3 separate regions of the Homo sapiens genome follow, and regions 2 and 3 are each linked to region 1. The links are contacts of gene promoters, found by promoter capture Hi-C in blood cells and fetal thymus (Javierre and others, 2016). All regions are on one chromosome and are shown on one strand. The core of a region is centred on a gene start or on the middle of the fragment in contact, and the rest is flanking DNA. Distances in the headings are between cores, read along the strand shown.

The links. Contacts are between HindIII fragments. The CHiCAGO score rates a contact against its expected background, and 5 or more counts as called.
Region 2: a contact is called between the fragment with the promoter of CLOCK here and the fragment with the promoter of DANCR in region 1, in 1 of 17 cell types (non-activated CD4 T cells). The highest score is 5.4, in non-activated CD4 T cells.
Region 3: the fragment with the promoter of TMEM165 here is called in contact with the fragment with the promoter of DANCR in region 1 in 1 of 17 cell types (naive CD8 T cells); the score reaches 5.2 in naive CD8 T cells.

The regions. Positions count from the first base shown.
Region 1 is chr4:52,711,130-52,713,653 of GRCh38, forward strand. DANCR (differentiation antagonizing non-protein coding RNA) reads left to right here and starts at 1,265. Exons shown (of 5, transcript NR_145129.1): 1 at 1,265-1,398; 2 at 1,695-1,830; 3 at 2,365-2,413. It overlaps MIR4449 (microRNA 4449), which reads left to right and starts at 1,553; the gene lies at 1,553-1,618. SNORA26 (small nucleolar RNA, H/ACA box 26) reads left to right here and starts at 2,120; the gene lies at 2,120-2,241. RefSeq lists silencers at 1,071-1,904, 1,079-1,648 and an enhancer at 1,899-1,948. The HindIII fragment of the contact is 6,853 bases long and covers 848-2,524 here.
Region 2 is chr4:55,545,648-55,548,171 of GRCh38, forward strand. It overlaps CLOCK (clock circadian regulator), which reads right to left and starts at 1,262. Exons shown (of 23, transcript NM_004898.4): 1 at 1,135-1,262. LOC124900704 (a long non-coding RNA gene) reads left to right here and starts at 218. Exons shown (of 2, transcript XR_007058122.1): 1 at 218-963; 2 at 1,969-2,242. RefSeq lists silencers at 258-887, 1,008-1,107, 1,168-1,537. The HindIII fragment of the contact is 4,589 bases long and covers 1-2,524 here.
Region 3 is chr4:55,394,697-55,397,220 of GRCh38, forward strand. It overlaps TMEM165 (transmembrane protein 165), which reads left to right and starts at 1,261. Exons shown (of 6, transcript NM_018475.5): 1 at 1,261-1,700. The coding sequence starts at 1,494. RefSeq lists silencers at 1,067-1,266, 1,467-1,936. The HindIII fragment of the contact is 4,477 bases long and covers 1-2,524 here.

The DNA of each region.
Region 1 (2,524 bases), core at 15-2,514:
GTAATCCCAACTACCCGGGAGGCCGAGACGAGAATAGTTTGAACTTGGGAGGTGGAGGCTGCAGTGAGCCAAGATCGTGCCACTATACTCCAGTCTGGGCAACAGAGCGAGACTCCATCTCAAAAACAAAACAAAACAAAAAAACTCTTCCAGGGTTTCCTGCATGGTCTGGCCCCAAGCCATTCTCATCTCAGGCCACTCTGCTCCTTAAGTTCCATTTCTGGGAGTCCTTAAACAGGTAAAGCCCTTTCCTGTTTTATCTTGGGGCTCTGGACGAGTTGTTCTTTCTGTTTACAAAGCCACACCCCACCAGAGCTGCCTGTCTTGATCTGTTAACCAAGTGTAGGCTATTTTTTGGTTTCCCTTCCTGCTCCACCCCCAACACCTGGGGAAAGGCTAGGTAGCATGTTGTTTGAGGGGCTCTGCCTTCAGGCTGCTTGAGTTCAAATCCTGGATCTACCACTGGCTAGCTGCTCTGTGACTTTGGGCAAGTTACATAACATAATTATTTCCCCATCTATAATTTGGAGATGATTAAATATATTTTGAGGATTAGATTTGTTAGCAGATGGTAAGTACGTGAAACAGCAATAGAAGTTCTCCTTTTAGCATATACTCCAATTTTCTTCTACTTATTTGTTTGCCAAGTTTGAGCCTGTTACCTTGAGATTGCTATGGTTGCCTTCTCAACCTCCCCAACTCCTACCCTCCAGCTGATTATGGTCTACTTATTGGACTCTGTAAATGAATAAAGAGGGAGCATGAGGAAAGGAGGTAGTCCTTCTAGCTTTAGGAGAGGCCACGGGAGTGAGCTTGTTGAACAAGACATGGTCGTGGCTTCTCTTTAAGCTTACGGTTTAGGCGGACACAGATGATGAACACACACCGGATTAGTGTGGCTTTAAGAAAGGGAATCCCAGGGCCTTAGGCCAACCCTGGAGTAACCTCGATGCCCTCTCCAGAAGGGCACCCGAGGAAGGGTCTAGGGCCCAAGAGCACCAAAATCACCAACGCCGGGGATTGGTAGGTAGCCTGAAAAATCTAATTCAGAGAAGGATGCTCCGCGCGCAGACATGGCTTATCCCCGTGCTACTGCATGAGCCACACCTAGGCCGGCCCCGGACACCGACAGCCAATGGCCGGGCCCGTCCCGCCCCATCCGGGATTGGCTGTGCGTGCCGCGGCCCTCCACCCCGCCCCGCTCAGGATCTTCCCGGGATTGGCTGAGCTACCCGACCTCTCCAGGGGATCGGCTGCGCGCCCCGCCCTTGCCCAGAGTCTTCCCGGGATTGGCTGCGGGCCTCGCGACCCTCCTGCTTCCCTCCCCGCCCCGCGCCGCCTCTCTGGTTTGTGCGCCCGTCGCAGGTCGCAGGCCTCTTTGTCAGCTGGAGTTGCGCGGTGAGTGCATCTCCAGTCTTCGGCTTTCGGTCTCCCGCGGGGAGGGCGCCCGGCCGGCCCGTGGGTCCGATCAGGGGCTGGGCTCGCCCGGTGTCCCCACGAGCTTTGCCCGCCTCGAGCTCCTCTGCTCCCGGCGGCCAGAACGGAGGGGTAGAGCAGCCCTCGGCGGCCCGGGGGGCGGGCGGCGGTGCCCGTCCCGGGGCTGCGCGAGGCACAGGCGCCGCGCCCAGCGGAACAGCCGGAGGTTCCCGGCGCAGGTCTGGGCACCGTAACAATTTTGCGCTTTGCTTCCCCAGGGCTGACGCGCCACTATGTAGCGGGTTTCGGGCGGGCCACGCGTGCGGGACAGGAACCCAACCCCAGCCGACCTTGAGCTCCAGGAGTTCGTCTCTTACGTCTGCGGAAGTGCAGCTGCCTCAGTTCTTAGCGCAGGTATGTTCCTAGCCTTGAGCGGGGTGGGGGAAGGAATGAGTCAGCCTGGAGCACGTGGCCAGTGGGACCGGAGGGTTCCCCGGCGTCTGTTTGTCGCCAAGGTCCGAATCCGGCTCCCCTTAACTGGAAGGAAACATCCATGTAGGGGCTCACCAAACAAAACAGCTGTGTTTCTAGTGTGGTTTCAGACTTAGAGAAGCAGAGATCCACGAGGTATTGAGAGCAACGCGGAAAATAGTAGTGAACCCTGTAAAAATCAAAGAAAAAAAATCACAAAGCACCCTTTCCTGTGCCCTTTTAAGGTTGACCCAGTGCTTTAAGAGGCTAACACAGAAGGGTAAAGTAAGTCTCCATAAAACCCAGAGAAGAGACTGGAAAGCTCCTCTTTGGATCCTGTCTGGAGTCACAACTGAACCAGAAAAAGTTTCGTTACAACTTGAGCGCCTTTGTGATTTTCTTTACAGTTTATAGAACAAGCAATACATTTCAGTTTTCTTTGGTTAAAACGTCATTTTAAAACTTTTCTTTCTATAGGTTGACAACTACAGGCACAAGCCATTGAAGCTGGAATGTCCTGTTGCTGGTATTTCAATTGACTTAAGCCAACTATCCCTTCAGTTACAATAGGAAAGTGCCTCTAATAAGGCCAAATATGCGTACTAACTTGTAGCAACCACGTGTCCGTGCAGTGCCA
Region 2 (2,524 bases), core at 12-2,511, 2.8 Mb after region 1:
CTTTTATCTTGCAGAATTAGGCTCACCTACCATCAACAAGAGGACCTCTACAAAGCTACAAACACTTTCAAAGAATATAAACTCTGCGGCGCTGCGTGTAGGAAATTACACTCCAGGGGCCAGAGCGCCAGAGCCAACTCCAGAAAACCCAGCTTCACTGGCGGAAAGAAATCTACAAACGCCAGCGGCGGTGACGGGGAACGGGAAGCGCGGGTGGACGGAAGAAGAGAAACCGAGCGCCTCGCCGCCAACCCTCGAACCCGCGCGCGGTCGCTGGAGTCAGACGCTAATAGCCGCGCGCTGCCTAGGAACGGAACCCCGGAACCACCACCACTAACGGAACCAGCCCGCGGCCGGCAACGGCGGCCGTTCGGACTGCGGACTGCGGCACGCGGGCCGGGCGCCGGGAGGGCGGGGGTTCCCCGGAGGAGCTGGCCGCCCCGGCGCCCCATTGGGCGCTGCTCCAAACGTGCCCGAGTGGTGACAGGAATAAAGTGGGTCACAAGGCCTAGCGGGTCCCCAGCGAAAGCTCTCTCGGCACCCGGTCCCCGTCTTTCCCCGCCTCCCAGCTGCTGGAATCGGCCGCAGCTCCGGGCGCCCTCAAGCCGCCCGGCCCCGCCGTGCACCCCACTCCCGCCCCTGCCCCGCAGGTAACCCCAGCTGCCCCAGAGGGCCTCTCAGGCAGGGCGGGCCTCGGCCCGAAGTCCCGGGAAAAGACACACTAGAACGACACGCCAAACTTGGGCTTCAGCTCCCGCCTTCCCCACCCTTGGCCGCCGCCCCCCGGCCCCACACACGCCGCCCCCCGCTCCCTCCCCTTCCCCGCGCCCTCACCGTGTGGCTTGCGGCGGCTCCGGCTTCTTCCCTCCCCCACCCAGGTCTCCCGCTGCGGTGACTCGGAACCACTACCCCGCCTGTGTCCAGGAGGCGCCGCGGCTCCCACCTCCAGCAGCACCTGGGGCTGTGAGTGGCGCCCCCCACCCACCCCCCCAAAAATTCGCCGCTCCTGTGGCCAGCTCCTCCTCCCCCTCCCTTCCCTTCCCCTCCTCCACCAGCCCAGGAGCGCGCATGCGCCGCCAAGGAAGCCAACCGGCACTCGGCAGGCCCTGGGCCCACCGGGCGGGCGCCTCTCACCGGGAGCGCTCGCGGCGGCGGCGGCCAGATTTCCTTCGCGCTCTCGCTCTCCGGGGTTTCCTTTTTTAAACCGGCAGCCGCAAGCCGAGTCCGTGATTGCGCCCCCTCCCGGCGCATGCGTCGTCAGCGACCCCGCGGGCTCAGACGGCCGGCGGAGGCTCTGCGCTCGCCCCTCCCCTCACTCTCCCTTTCCCCAGCGCGGCTCGGTGCGCATGCGACTTGCCCCGTTAGGCAGCACGGAGCCGCGCCAGGGGATCCCGGACGCCCGAAGAGACTCCCGCGCCCCTTGGGCCGAAATCTGGCTCTGCAGGCGCACCGTTCCCTGCCCCGGCCGGGAACGGCGCCGGTTACTAGAAAGCCGGGGAGGCGGGGCCTGGTCGGGTGGAGGGCGCGGCCGGCCGGCAGAGCGCTAGCCTTAGGTCCTGGAGGCTCTTTGGCTTTCCCCCCGTATGCCGGGGGCTAGGAGGAGGAAGAAGAGCTTCCTGCCGGATGAGGGATCCAGAGGCCAGAAAAGGAACCCGCTCTCCCTTCCAAAGCAAAACACTGCCGACGCCAGCTTAGATTTTTCGGGTGTTGGCAGGAGACTTTTTCCCCCAGTGGCATCATTCGTGTTTCCTCTCCTGGTGCTGGGAGAGAAGAGTTGCAAAGGCGCCTGGACCGCCAGTAACATCTTCTCCCATCTCCTGAGGGAGCGCGGCTTGGGTTGCTTCTTCTTGGTGGGTGGGCCTGGGGAGACAGGGCATGCGCCCTCGGCCAGAGGAGGGAAGCGAAAGGAGGTCGGGATTTATTTGCTCATTTGGAGATTTTTCCCTTGCCCTTTTATTAAAAATCAAGTGACAGTGTAATGGAAGATGGAGAATGAAGCATCAGAAATAAACCAGGACCCTAATTTGCATGGATTTCCTCGTTGGAACAACGTGTGACTACTACTTATCTTCGGGAAATTACTTATCTTGATGCGTTAAGGCACATTTGGTCCACATGAGAAAGCACATTTCAGTGCTTCTACTGGAAAAGAGATCTTTACAGTCTTAATTCCTAGTAATTCCTATGTTTTAATGAATATCTTTTGGATTTGAAATAAAAGCCATCTTTTTCTTTCAAAAAATGCACTTTTCTGGCCGTAAAATCCTCCCTTTAAAGTAACAGTCACCTCAGTAAACATTTTCAATTCTTGCTGTATGCTCTGGGCAAAAGAACATCAAACTGAAGCACTTATTCAGATCCTTGATCCTGCACCTAAGGATTTTTCTTTCAGGAGTGGGAAAACATGATTTGTTAATTTACCCCATCATATAGCAGAAGATATTTTGGTCGACATTTTTGCCTGTTCAGCATTCATTCCCTATTCTGATAATTTCTTTTGAAGAACTATCATTTATCCACTCTC
Region 3 (2,524 bases), core at 11-2,510, 2.7 Mb after region 1:
CTACTAAAATTACAAAGTTAGCCGCGTATGGTGGAGCATGCCTGTAATCCCAGCTACTCGGGAAGCTGAGGCAGGAGAATCTCTTGTACCCGGGAGGAGGAGGTTGCAGTGGGCCGAGATCTCACCATTGCACTCCATCCTGAGCAACAAGCGCGAAACTCCGTCTCAAAAACAAAAACAAAGAAAACAACAAAACAAAAAAACAGACGGAAATTTTATTATCCTGTGACAAACACTGTATCTTTGGTGAACTCAAAGTAGGTTTGCCCACTTTCCCACAGATTGTTTTGGTGGATTAATTTTTTGTTTCAGTTAGTGATAAACTTCCTTAGCTCTTTACTGAGTACAGGTTTACTGTATGTAAATATGTATAATATTAGATTAGTGCCTGGCACATGGTTAGCACTATCGATTTTTATTAGGGACTAGGTCTCAAACTTATGGTAATTAAGTAGCTCACTTTTTCTTTTGGGAAGACGTAAAAATATTCTCAAGCCTAACTCAAGACCATCCTTTCCTGTCTTCTAGTCTTGCCCACTCAAAGCTCCATCCTGCAAAAGTCTTAAACAGTCCATTTCAAAAGCCCAGCATTTTTAAAGGGTCTAAGGAATAGCACAAAACAAGATGCACCCAAAACGTCAAGGCCATACTGGACAAGGGCAACGTTAGCCATTTTTGGTCTGGGGTAATTATAGGCAGTATCTTAAAACAAGGCTTGAAAAATGTCATGTTATTTCCAAATCCCATTTCAGAACTTTAAAAAAAAAATAGCATTTTGAGCTCCTAAGAACGTTTTTGGCGGTAGGTGGCCACATGGAGGGTGGCACAGAGGCTCGGCGGGGGAGAGCGGAACAGAGCTGGGCGTGGCAGTGCCTGCGAGTCAGCGCCACGTAACCAGAGGCGCTCGCACTAATTTGACCTCTAAGAGAGACTAAGCGCAGGGAACAGCGGGTGCGGACATTACGGCGGAAGGCTCTGGAGGAAGCAGAAGTGAAGGACCTCGCAGTCCTGGGACGGTGGGGCACAGAGAGAGAAAGGGAGCCCCGGGCGCGGCGCGGTGAGGATGCGAGCAGAGGAAGGACACGCGGCGCCGGGTACCTGCCGGGAGCGCCGGATCCAATGGGAGGAGGGCCCGCGCCGCACCTCAACCTGGCAGAGGACGTCACGACGCCAAGGCGGTCGCCGGGCCAATGGGAGGCCGTCGCGGGCAGGGACGGGGCCGGGAGGAGTCGGGGCTGGGCCGCGCCGAGGCAGCTGGCTGACTCCAGTTTAGCCGCCGCCGGAGAGGACGGGCGCCGAGCCGGGGCTGCGGACTTCGGCCTGCCCCTCACCTCACTCCCGCTGCTTGCACCTCCCGGATGGTGCTGACTGCTCCCTAAGCGGCGGCGGCGGCGAGTCGTGAGGACGCGCCGCGGAGGCTGTTCGGGGTCGAGGCTTCCCGTCGCCGGCACTTCCTCTTGCGGCGCCCGTGCGCGGCCGGCCCGGCAGGCGGGATGGCGGCCGCGGCTCCAGGGAACGGCCGCGCATCGGCGCCCCGGCTGCTTCTGCTCTTTCTGGTTCCGCTGCTGTGGGCCCCGGCTGCGGTCCGGGCCGGCCCAGATGAAGACCTTAGCCACCGGAACAAAGAACCGCCGGCGCCGGCCCAGCAGCTGCAGCCGCAGCCTGTGGCTGTGCAGGGCCCCGAGCCGGCCCGGGTCGAGGTGAGCGGGCCGGGATGGGGCGAGCGAGGCTGCAGGGCCGGCTGCGCCGAGTACCAGGCTCCAGGCCTTTGAAAGCGCCGCACTCCGCCGGCCTCGGCTGGGGGAGGGGAGCCCGGCCCCTGCTCCCGGGGTGGAGGGCGGTCGGCTGCGCTGTTTTCCGGTGAGGCCTGGTCTTGCCCGCTCCTTTAGGGAAAGGGAGAGGGAGAGTCCAAGAGGAGCCCGCTATAAACGTTGATCTCCGGAGGGCCAAGATGCTGCTCCGGGATGGGCGTTTTATTGATCAGATGTGTCTTAGAGTAGCTAGAAAGACTCATCCCTACCAAAAAGTTTTTAACAGAAGGCTGCTAGGAGGCTTTTTGTATTCCCTGAGGATCATCACATCGGCCATTTCATTGTTGAAATAGCTTATGCCAAACTGCTTACCCAAATTCAACTTGGCACTGCCTGTGCTTTTTGCCAAATATGGATTATGAACCATGACTCTCACTTTTTAAAAATGTGCTTTGGCTAGCAGGAAGTAGCCTTTAGGAACGCAGAGGAATTAGTCTCCGGCAGTACAGCGTGCTGCAGCGATGTGGGATGCCAAAACTACATTTATAAGTAAAACAGAATCCTGTATTTTGTCCTTCCCTGAATAGATACTAGAAATCAACTTTTTAATCTGTTAATAGAATTAGTCCTTAGTCACTTGGCAGCGTTTTAACATTTCTCCCTTCTCCCAGTCGTGGGCTTTGTCGTCATTTCCAGTATCTGCTCCCTGAATCCCGGCCAGTGTGGCACTCAAACCCCCACTCCCACCCAGGCCACATCCAGCCCATCTCCAC